Regions from separate parts of the Homo sapiens genome. Here all the other regions are linked to region 1. Evidence: promoter capture Hi-C in 16 types of primary human blood cells and fetal thymus (Javierre and others, 2016). All regions are on one chromosome and are shown on one strand. The core of a region is centred on a gene start or on the middle of the fragment in contact, and the rest is flanking DNA. Distances in the headings are between cores, read along the strand shown. Region 1 holds the start of UNG (uracil DNA glycosylase). Region 2 overlaps SART3 (spliceosome associated factor 3, U4/U6 recycling protein). Region 3 overlaps SART3 (spliceosome associated factor 3, U4/U6 recycling protein).

The links. The method cuts DNA at HindIII sites, captures the fragments that hold promoters and counts their contacts. A CHiCAGO score of 5 or more calls a contact.
Region 2: a fragment that was not itself captured here is called in contact with the fragment with the promoter of UNG in region 1 in 11 of 17 cell types (naive CD8 T cells, total CD8 T cells, megakaryocytes and 8 more); the score reaches 8.2 in naive CD8 T cells.
Region 3: a fragment that was not itself captured here is called in contact with the fragment with the promoter of UNG in region 1 in 16 of 17 cell types (total CD8 T cells, erythroblasts, naive CD8 T cells and 13 more); the score reaches 13.4 in total CD8 T cells.

What each region holds. Positions count from the first base shown.
Region 1 is chr12:109,095,918-109,099,801 of GRCh38, forward strand. It overlaps UNG (uracil DNA glycosylase), which reads left to right and starts at 1,680. Exons shown (of 7, transcript NM_080911.3): 1 at 1,680-1,894; 2 at 2,515-2,721; 3 at 3,272-3,367. The coding sequence starts at 1,763. RefSeq lists a silencer at 1,859-2,248. The HindIII fragment of the contact is 3,702 bases long and covers 1-3,201 here.
Region 2 is chr12:108,534,905-108,538,788 of GRCh38, forward strand. It overlaps SART3 (spliceosome associated factor 3, U4/U6 recycling protein), which reads right to left. Exons shown (of 19, transcript NM_014706.4): 8 at 3,161-3,299; 9 at 2,584-2,691; 10 at 1,804-1,881; 11 at 1,610-1,668; 12 at 455-564. Among named protein-coding and RNA genes, the nearest start is that of FICD, 22 kb to the left of the region's middle. The HindIII fragment of the contact is 1,824 bases long and covers 851-2,674 here.
Region 3 is chr12:108,551,380-108,555,263 of GRCh38, forward strand. The region is part of intron 1 of SART3 (spliceosome associated factor 3, U4/U6 recycling protein); the gene reads right to left. Among named protein-coding and RNA genes, the nearest start is that of SART3, 7.9 kb to the right of the region's middle. The HindIII fragment of the contact is 625 bases long and covers 1,455-2,079 here.

The DNA.
Region 1 (3,884 bases), core at 430-2,929:
GCAGCACTGAGACCTGGGTAGGAAGCTGGGGTTTATTCTAAGCCTTTTTGAAAACCAAAGAAGGGTTTTAACCTAAGGATTGTCTTTTTTTTCTTTTTCTTTTTTTTGTTTGTAGACAGGGTCTTGCTCTGTCACCCAGGCTGGAGTGCAGTGGCACAATCTCAGCTCACTGCAACCTCCGCCTCCCGGGTTCAAGTGATTCTCCTGCCTCAGCCTCCTGAGTAGCTGGGATTGCAAATGCATGCCACCACGCCTGGCTAATTTTTGTATTTTTAGTAGAGACGGGGTTTCACCATGTTTGCCAGGCTGGTCTCGAACTCCTGTGCTCAAGCGATACGCCCCTCCTTGGCCTCCCAAAGTGTTGGGATTACAGGCGTGAGCCACCGAGCTGGGCCAGGCCCCAGGTATTGTCATGATGTAAAAATCTCTCTCTAGAAAAGAGAACACCAGCTTCCCAGCTGGTCTTCTGTAGCTAGGAGATGCAAGAGCAGCAGTTGAATTTGAGGTTTGCTTTGGAGAAAGAACCAAAAGCAGATATGGATGGTTTGGATGTGAGGGAGGGAAAGAGAATCCTAAGTGTATTAGTAGTGGTGGGAGGAGGTTCGGTACAGTGGTGTCATTTGGAAGACAAATCGTTGGTGTTTAACCTCTATGACCCGAAAGTCTCCCACAAGCCTGATACATTAGGCAAAATGTTTGACTGCACTAAGCCTTAGTTTATCGTCATAAAATAGGCCATGAAAATTGCGTGAGAAAATGTATATAACAGTTCAACAAATAATATTGGCTGGGTGTGGTGGCTCATGCCTGTAATCCCAGCACTTTGGGAGGCCAAGGTGGGCAGATCGCCTGAGGTCAGGAGTTCGAGACCAGACTGGCCAACATGGTGAGATCCCCCATCTCTACTAAAAAAATACAAAACACACTTGGGCAAACATGGTGAAACCCCATTTCTACTAAAAATAGAAAAATTAGCCAGGCGTGGTGGCGCGCGCCTATAATCCTAGCTGAGGCACGAGAATCGCTTGAATCCGGGAGGCGGAGGTTGCAGTGGGCTGAGATCACACCACTGCATTCCAGCCTGGGCGACAGAGCAAGACTCTGTCTCAAAAACAAAATACACACACAAAATATAATAGTATTTGTTTGTTTGTTTGTTTTTGAGATGCCTCGGATTACAGTGCGGGGATTACAGACGTGAGCCATCAAGCCCGGACAATATTATTATATTGTTCATTGCACTCCCACAACACCCCTAAGGGGCAGGAACTTTTCTTCCCAGCCCCCTCCCCCCGACCCCACCGAGAGACAGGGTCTCGCTCTGTCGCCCAGGCCTGGAGTGCATTGGCGCGATCAAAGCTCACTACAGCTCAGACCCTCTGGCCTCAAGCGATCCTCCAGCCTGGGCCTCCCAAAGCGCTAGGATTACAGGCGTGGGCCACCGCGCCTGACCAGTCTTCTCTTCTTGCAGCTGAGCCTTAAGAGCCTGTCCAAAGAGCAGAGGTGGGCTGAAGGCACAAAGCGAATGAAAGAATAGGCCCCCGGGCACCGTTGCACGCCCCACCTCCTCCCAGGGGCGTTGCACTCCAGCCCCTCCCGCACATGCGCACTGGGCCTTCCACCGCCCCCCGCCCCCAGCAAAGCCCCCCGCTCGGAGCATGCGCGGGCCGCTTGGCGCCAATTGCTGACCGCCACAGCCACAGCCAGGGCTAGCCTCGCCGGTTCCCGGGTGGCGCGCGTTCGCTGCCTCCTCAGCTCCAGGATGATCGGCCAGAAGACGCTCTACTCCTTTTTCTCCCCCAGCCCCGCCAGGAAGCGACACGCCCCCAGCCCCGAGCCGGCCGTCCAGGGGACCGGCGTGGCTGGGGTGCCTGAGGAAAGCGGAGATGCGGCGGTGAGGCGCGGCTTGGGCCGGGGCTAGGGGGTGAAGGGGGAGGAAGGCGGTGGGCCCCGCCTGACGGAGGGCGTGCAGGATCGCGCCTCTGACTCGGTAAACCCGGGCTCCGCTTTCCAAATAGCCTCCACGTGTTCAAAATAGCCGCCGCTGTCCCCCATGGGCCGCCATGCTAAAGGGCCAGCCAATGGGAACGCGTCTCGGGGCCCATGGCGCCAATCCGCGCGCCGCAGGCCCTCCTGGCTCGGTGCGCTGTCCAATCAGAGGGGAGAGGGGGCGGGACCCAGAGGGAGGTTTTTTGCCGCGAAAAGACCACGTGGGGACGCGGTGGGGCGGGTCTGGCGGGGGCGGGGCACCTCTGTGCAGGGTTCCCAGTCACCGCGACGCTCCTCGGGAAGCCATAGGGCGCCTCCCAGCCCGTCTCCCCGCTCCAGTTTAGAACCTAATTCCCAATTCCCGGACCGGGCCCAGCCCTGGGCTCTTACTGTCCGCTTTTGCTGGGACCTGTTCCACAAATGGGCGTCTTCTGCCTTGGGCCGTGGGGGTTGGGCCGGAAGCTGCGGACGCCTGGGAAGGGGCCGCTGCAGCTCTTGAGCCGCCTCTGCGGGGACCACTTGCAGGCCATCCCAGCCAAGAAGGCCCCGGCTGGGCAGGAGGAGCCTGGGACGCCGCCCTCCTCGCCGCTGAGTGCCGAGCAGTTGGACCGGATCCAGAGGAACAAGGCCGCGGCCCTGCTCAGACTCGCGGCCCGCAACGTGCCCGTGGGCTTTGGAGAGAGCTGGAAGAAGCACCTCAGCGGGGAGTTCGGGAAACCGTATTTTATCAAGGTAAATATGGAAATGCACCTTCCATAAGGGTAAATGTGGAGGCTGCCGGCCCTTTTGTCTTGTTAGTGTAGCCGGCCAAGTTCATGTTTCCGTAGGCTTAGGTTGTACCCCCTTCAACCTCCTTTACTCACAAAGGGGGTAAAAGAAAGCCATGATGTTTCACTCTGCAGCTTTATATTGGTTAAAGTTGTTAACGACCCGCGAGATGATATCATGGATTCATTTAAGTCACATAGTCTATTGTCCAGGAAAGGCTGGCGTAGTAAAATCACCAACCATCCTGAATGAAACCTGGCTTGAGCTTTAAAAAGCCGAGAGGAGTGGCACTGTCAGGACCCAGCCCAGAGAAAGAGGCAAGGAATTGACCTGATTGAACCACTTAGGTGGGGGGGCAGGCACTGTTTTTGTTTGTTGTTTTTTAAAAGAATTTGGACATAACATGACAAAGAACTAATGATGTTCCAAATAACTTGCACTAGAAGCTTTCTTATTGAATTCTTATGGTTTCCAATGAGAATCTGATTTTAAGTCTAGTTTATCTTTAAATCAGCTAATGGGATTTGTTGCAGAAGAAAGAAAGCATTACACTGTTTATCCACCCCCACACCAAGTCTTCACCTGGACCCAGATGTGTGACATAAAAGATGTAAGTACAACTTGTTGATAATTTTTATTGGGGAGAAGGAGTCAAATAGTATTTTTAAATTAGGGACACTGGAGTTAAGCCACAGTCCATCATTCAGTAGTAAATAAAACACTGAAATCCCGAGGTTTGGCTGACTGTATTTCAGCCTGTATTTACTCTTTTTAATGTTTACCACGTGGTATTTATGTGGCAAAAAGGAAAACTATGTACATCCTGTGCTCTTATTTCTTGTATTTTTTTTAAATCCTGAAACTAACCTCCCGCGGTGTCAGATGTTATGGTGGTGGTGAAGTTCAAACTGACACACAAAGCAGTTAAATCTTTTGCAGCTTGTTATAGTCAACCCCACCTTGACCTGACCACACTGCCTTATAGTTAGCACTTTCAAGCTCTTGACTTCTGGCCTGAACAGTTTTGTGGTTCTGTTATCAGATCCCTTTGCTTTAGTTTGTCTTATATAACAGTTGCTGGTTGGCGGCTCTCATCCATCTTGTGTTCAGAAGTTCGTGGGGCTGGG
Region 2 (3,884 bases), core at 513-3,012, 560 kb before region 1:
ATAGTTTTAAAGGCTTGTAACACATGCATGCTATAATTGCATTTTCATTACAAAAAAATTTAAACATAGAAAAGTCTCAAAGAATGGGTCATGGTTATGACTGGGTCAGTAATTTGAGTTTTTTTTCTCTTAGCTTTTTAGTATTTTCTACTTTTCTATAAAAGCAAATATAAAAAACAAATAGCTCCAAAAGGTCAAATAAAATATCATGCCCAAAAATCAAGACAAAAACAAATTAAAAGAAATGCATGGCTATAAGAGTTCCAGGCACAAAATATCATGTCTGGTTCTCTAGCCCTGCCCATTAAAAATGTACCCACTACTGAAAGAGACAGAATGAAAGAAAACAGCCCAGTTCTAAGGAGCTAGTCCAAGCTGGTAGGAGTCAGCCAGGAGTGAAGACAGGTGCACAGCTGACAAGCACTGCCTCCCTCCCCACCCCGAGATCAGTTACCTTTCCAGGTTGTAATACTCTAGCCACATGTTGGCGTACTTGGCATTTCCTCTGGTCATGATGCTATCCCAGAGTTCCCGAGCTTTCTGCATGTTATTGCACAGTCGAGCCTAAAGTGCATCAGCAGGCTGTTAGGAGACCTGAACCTTATGACGTCGACACCCATCATACAACACACTTCCAACAGACACACATAAAAAGCACCCCACAACTATTAGTGTTACAGATGTCCCTGGGCATTCCCCAGGCCTCCCTCCAGTGGTAAACGACCCAGCCCAAACACTTGAGCCTTTCTGCAGCCACAAGCTAATCTACCTATGTTTCCTGAGAACCGAGAGAGGGAGCGCACGGTACTTACTCGACAGTACTAGATAGTCACGTTTTTTATTTTTATCAAGCTTAACTACAAGTGTTTGAGAGACAATGTTAAAAAAAAAAAAAAGACTGATCTAGTATTAAATGCACACTCTGCTACTAATACTTACAAACTGTGACTTGGGCAAATTACTTAACCTGTAATTCTCAGTTTTCTCATCTTTAAAATGGTTAAAAGATAAGCATCCCATATAAAAACTACCTGACAAATGTTAGTTTCTTCTATCTGACGCTCCCTCCGAGGAGAAAACATGATTAGAATTGTTACAATCCTACCTGCTGATCAAGGGAGGTTCCGTGTCTTACTGACCTTGGTGTCCCTGACCCAGTAATGACATTCAAGTCATCATATCCTCTAATTACTTGTCAAATCATCTGTCTTCTACATTAGATAGAAGCCTTACTAGCAAAGGAATTTTATCTGTCTTATTCCCACAGCACCTAGTACAGTGCTGACAAACAGTACACGCTCACTGTGCTCTCACAAATGAAGCAAAGAGGCAGAGACAGAAGTAAACGAGTGAATACCTAGCATCTAAACATTTACTGCACAACTTCTAGCTGGGAGCTAATATTTTCACCAACATATTTACAAATATATGTCAAGCTAGGTAAATAACATGAATCCTTGTGGAGCCTAGACCATTACCTAGGTAATAACATAAATCCTTATAGAGCTTAGGCCATTATCTGGGATTCTGACTCAATTTTAATTAAAGTTTAATAGGATGCTATTAAACAATGATGGATGAAAGTGCTAGATGTGTCAAAAACATTTACCTCAATCCTAGCCCAGTTCTGCATAATCACGCAGCTTGGATCACCACTCTCATTGAAACCTTCAAAAACAGAATTAGTAAAATTAGAAAGGAACTTGGAGACAGATAGTCGCTGGCTGAAAAGGTACATCAACCAGGAAATAGTACAGACAAGGAAATACAACTGGGCAAAACCACAGGCTGGGGCATACTTACGCTCTTCCACCTCCTGCTTCAGATACTCCAAGGCACGAGTAAAGGCGGCCCTCAACTCCTCCAGCTCTTTACTGGAGTCTAACGGAAAGTGCAAAAAAAGGCTTTAGGAAACCACATAGCCTGGCTTTGTTTTATTTTTTATCCTATGCTGAAACTGCCTGGAGACCCACTATGTACCTGGCATCATGCAAGGGACACAGAAATAAAATTGCCAATTCCTGCCCTCATCACATAGTTGGGGAGAAAGAAATTTGAACAGAATAGAGCATGGACAGCGTGGTGAAAAAGGCAAACACAGGGTGCTGTGGGGGGGAGTCTCCCCCAGCTGGGGTGACACAGGCAAACAAGAGAATGGCTAAAGGCTACCTGTATGAGGTGACAGCTGACATGAGTGTGCAAGTACAAGTTAGGGGTTTTCTGGTTGTTTTCGGGGGGACATGAAGGGGCAAAGGATCCCACAGAGGTACAAAGATTTTTCTAAAACACAGCAGACTTATTTCAAGAAGTATTTAGGATAAATAAAAAGACCTGAAAGGAGAAATGAGAGCTAAGACTAAAAAGGCTGGCAGGAGCCAGTATAAACGATTACTCTCTTGCTTTACAATCCACATCATGACTTGTTAAAGACAGAAATTGCTAAGATTTCTGGGGGAAAAAGTCACCAATACCTAGTCTACATCATTTGCCCAATCACAATGTATCTGGGGAACTGGGACATCTCGCCAAAAGTTGTATTAAGAACATGTTCAGCTCTAAAGTGAAAAACATGTGCTTAAATACCTTGTTTGAAATCAACCCTTCTCCTCAGGTAATCAAGGTATGCCTGCCAAATCTCCACATAATCAGTGGCCTGGATGAAGCCGGCATTCAAAGCTTTCTCGAAGGTTACTGGAGTTGGAGAAAAGTCAGGATTTGTTACCAATTCAAATGGAAACTAATAGAAAGTCACTACATTCTACTGACTATAAAACACTACATGACTTTAAAGACTAATAGATGCAACAGAATGAAATGAGCTAGACAGGAATGTTGAAGACAGAAGTTGCTACAGCACTCTACAGACTGTGTTCTAGAAAAAACTTCTTCCACAAGACGCCCTGCAAGAAAAGTTCCAGATCAAGGAAGTTTGGAGAAAACACTACAACTTCTTAGAAAATACAATGAATATTAGCATGTTAAAAAGCTCTAAGAAGCCACAAATATAACCAGTTCATCTCTCACTCAGAGCCCTTTTTGTCACTACACTCCATAACCCAAAGAAAACCCCAGGGAACACTGATGTAATGACTTTGTCACCGCTCTCTGTTTTTCACTTGGGACAAATAGCTTAGAAGTTCTCCCACAAAAACATCCGCACCAGAAATTACTTGATGATCAACTCCATGTCTCTCCATGGCCAAGAGGTACCGACTCCATAAGGCAACTGTCCAGGGGCAGTTTCTAATAGCGCGGTTATGTACAGATAAAACCAAATCCTTTACTTTCAGTTGTCGATCCTATGATAAAGAATTCCAGAGTTAGGAAATTACACTTTATTAAGCATTCACCATCAACAAGACATTGCCAGCACGACCAAGTGATGAAAGAAATGTCCTTATAAACATCTCTTGTGACCTGGTTTCCTCAACAACAACAAAAAAATCACTAAGGGGAGTGGAGGAGAAGGAGAGGAGCAACTTACAGGTTAAAACAGCCTTAAAAGACGTCAGCCAACCCTACTGGATAGACCTCATTTGGATCCTTTTATACAGACACACTGAAATATTTTATATACACATACTGAAATATTTACCAACGAAATATCATTTCTGGATTTGCTTCAAAGTAACACAGAAGGGACAAGTAGGTGAGACTACAGATCAAAGTAAACTAAAGCTATAAATGTTACTAATTGTTGAAGCTGGGTGAGGGGTACAGAAGTTTCATTTTACTGATCTGTCTACTTTTATATGTTTACATTTTTGCCATAATAAAAAGTTAAAAGAAAAATATCAAGTTGTTATAAGTCCTCAACACAGACAATATGCTCATTTTACTTACAGTTAGTGACCATTTTTAAATAACTTGAAACACTAAAACTT
Region 3 (3,884 bases), core at 517-3,016, 540 kb before region 1:
AATTACATTTGGCAACTTCAACATCTCCCTTTTCAGCAACTGATAAAACTACTAGACACTTGAATATGTTGAACCTGGTCAAAAAGAAGATGAATAAAAGAAAAAGAAAATTAGACAAAAGCAAATTAAAAAATTTTTAAGTTTTTAAAAAGAAAGGAAATTGTTTAATTTTTTTTTAAACTAGGCAGAACAGGGTTATAGAAGAACTCAATAACGCCGTCAACGAACATGACCTAATTTATATAGAGAACAGCCCACCCAACAATACAGAATATGTATTTTTCTCAAGTACTTACGGAACATTCACTGAAGCCATATCCTTGGCCATAAAACAAACCTCAACAATTTAAGAGAAATGAAAACCATGCAGAGTATGTTTTGTGACCACAATGGAATCAAATTAGAAACCACTAACAGTAAGAAAATCTCTGAACACGTGAAAATTAAGTAATACACTTCTAAATAATCTGCAGGTCAAAGAGGAAGTCTCCAAGAAAATTTACAAATTAAAAAAAGTGAATGAAAATGAAATTGCAACAAATCAAAATAAGTAGGATGCTACTAAAACAGTACGGAGGAAAATTTAAAGAACTAAATTCAGTGTATAAGAAGAATTATACACCATGACCAAGTGGTATTTATTCCAGGTTTGCAAGGCTAATTCAACATTTAAAAATCAATTACTGTAATCCAGTGTATCAAAAGGCTAAAGAAAACTCATGGTATCAATAGATGCAGAAAATGCATGTGACAAAATCCAACAACGATTCATGGTTAAAACACTCAGCATGTTAGGAATAGAGGGAAACAACCTCAACCTGATAAAGAGCATCTATAAAAAATCTATCCCATAAGTTGGGATATAGGGTTACCTTAACATCATTCCTAATGGTAAAAGATTGAACACTTTCCTCCTAAAATCAAGAACAAGGCAAGGATGTCTGCTCTCACCACTCTTTTCCAACAAAGTCCTATAAGTTCTAGCCTGTTCAATAAGACAAGGAAAAGAAATAAAAGCTATACAGCTCGGAAAAATAAAACTGTCCTGATTTGTAGATGATATGGCTAAGTAGACAATCTTAAGGAACCAATTAAAAAAAAAAAAAACTCCAAAAATAGTGAACTGAGCAAGGTCACAGAATATAAGATAAACATACAAAAACAAAAAAAAAAACAAAAGAACATGTGGAAACCAAATTTAAAGACATAGCACCATTTACAATCACTCCAAAAAACCTAAATAATTAGGTGTATATTTAAAAAGTTTACAAAATCTGTATGCTGAAAATTACAAAATGCTGAGGAAAGAAATCAAAGACCTAAAAAAAGAGACACTTCATGTTCATGGATTGAAAAACTCAACATAGTCAAGAAGTAAATTCTCCCTAAACTGACTTACAGGCTTACTGAAACTCCAATTAAAATCCCAACAAGGTTTTTTGTAGACCTAGACAAGCTTATTCTAAAATGTATATGGGATGGCAGAGGCCCTAGAATAGCTAAAAATGATCTTGAAAAAGAATAAAGTGGGAGTAATCACTCTACCTGATTGATACTAAAACCTACAATACAGCTACAATCATCAAGGCAGTGTGAGAATGGCAGAAAGATACATAGATGAAGAGAATAGAACCCAGTAACAGACCCACACAAATATGCCCAAATAATTTTTGACAAACGCAATGCAACAGAGGAAAAAAAAAGGCATTTTCAAAAAATGATGCTGGAGCAAATGGATATCCACAGGCAAAACAAATAAATACACCTTGACCTAAACTTCACGCCTTACAGAAATAACTCAAAATGGATCACACTTAAATGTGAAATGTAAATATAACATCACAAAATGTTAGGACAAGAGAAAAATTTCAAGGCAACATCAAGGATCCTTAAGGTGACAGAACTGATCTGTATCTTGACTATATCAATGTCAATACCCAGGTTATTACATATTATAGTTCCTCAAAGTGTTATCATTGAGGGAAACTGGGTAAAAAGTACACGAAAAATCTCTATTATTTCTTACAAGTGCATGGAAATCTACAATTATCTCAAAATAAAAAGGCGAATTGTTTAAAAAGCTTTTGTTGGGATATAGGGATAATTTAAGTCTGTACACCAAGACTTCATTAGTATCTACTCTTCCAACATCTGCCACATTTTAGGAATATTTCCCTCTCCAGAGATAAAAGATTACCTACACTTCATTCAAATTACACTCTACCATCTGACAACATACCCTAATAATCCAGGTACTAGATATTTAATTAAAATACAGAAAGACAGCCAATGAATATGATTACTTGAACTTTAGGATAAAAATCTTAACAATGAAGTAGCCAGTGAACCTTTAAATGGAGTGGGGACAAGGACCAACCATTCAGAGAATACAAATATGAAGGATTACGGGGTTTTGTTCAAGTGTTTAGATTTTAAACAAGAACTCATTATCTTTCTCTACTAATTATAATAGTAAAACCCTTCCATGGCTTCCCAGTATCCTAGGAACAATTTGCAAATCCCTGCCTCATGTGCAATCCCAGCATGCTGGGCTCATCTCTCCAGCTACATCTCAAACCACCGGCCTCTCAACATGGCAGCCAGCTTCGTGTAACTCAAACATTCCAACGTCTCTCCAACCTCAGGGCTAGGCACCTGCTGCTCCTTCAGCCCAGAAGGATCTCTCACCTTCTCTCTGCCTAGCCACCCCTTTTCATACTTCAGGTATAAACTTCACTTCCTCAGAGGGCGCCCCCGGCCCCCCTCCTATGCCACTCTTTCTTAAGTAGCCCCCTATATGCTGCAAGCTGTTTTCCATCTCATCATCGTGTTTATTTCCATCATGACCTAAAGGCTTCATGGGATAAGTACCTTGTATGTCTTATCCTTGACTTGGTTAGATTCTTTACCTACCTGGCACACAGAATTCAATAAATTACATGTCAATCTCACTCAAGAGCATTAATACAAAAATCCTAAATAAAATATTAAAAAATCAGAAATGTATAAAGAGAACAATACATAATGATCAATTTGGGTCTATCCCAGGAATGCAAGGGTGTTTTTACACTACAAAATCATCCAGTATAATTTTTCCACCATCAGATTTGAGGGAAAAAAACATGATTACCTCAATGAAGAAATAGCATTTGATTAAAACATCCATTCATGAGTCAAAATTAAGAATTAGCAAACTAGGAATAGAAAGGCACTTCCTTAACCTGATTTTTAAAATCTGCAATAAATATATTTTAATAACATATTTATATATTTATTATATTGTTTATTATATATTTATATATTTATATTTAGTAAATTTAATAATACATTAAAATTCCTTTTAAAAAACACAAAAAACTTCCCAGTATTGCCTTCTATTTAACCCTGTACTGGAGGTCTGGGGTTTTAACAATGAGACAAGGAAAAGAAACAGATATAGAGAAAAGAATGAGAACTGTTAATTATGGTCAGATGATATCAATGTATAGTAAACCAAAACTCATCTACAAACAAATCATTTGGAAATAATAAACAAGATTAGCAAAGTGACAAGCAATAAGAGCAATGTATAAAAATCAATTATATACAAAGAGACAAATACTGTATGATTCCACTTATATGAAGTATCTAGTCAAATTCATAGAGACAGAAAACTACAATGGTAGTTATCAGGGGATTGGGAAGGAAGGAGAAGGAGAGCTGTTTAATTGGTAGAGTTGTATATATGCAAATGAAAACTTTGGAGATCTGCTTCACAACAATGTGACTATACTTAACACTACTGAACCATACACTTAAGAATAAGATAGCAAAGTTTACGTTATATGTTTTTTACAATAAAAAAATTACATTTCTATAAACCAGCAAGCTTTAAAATGTAATTT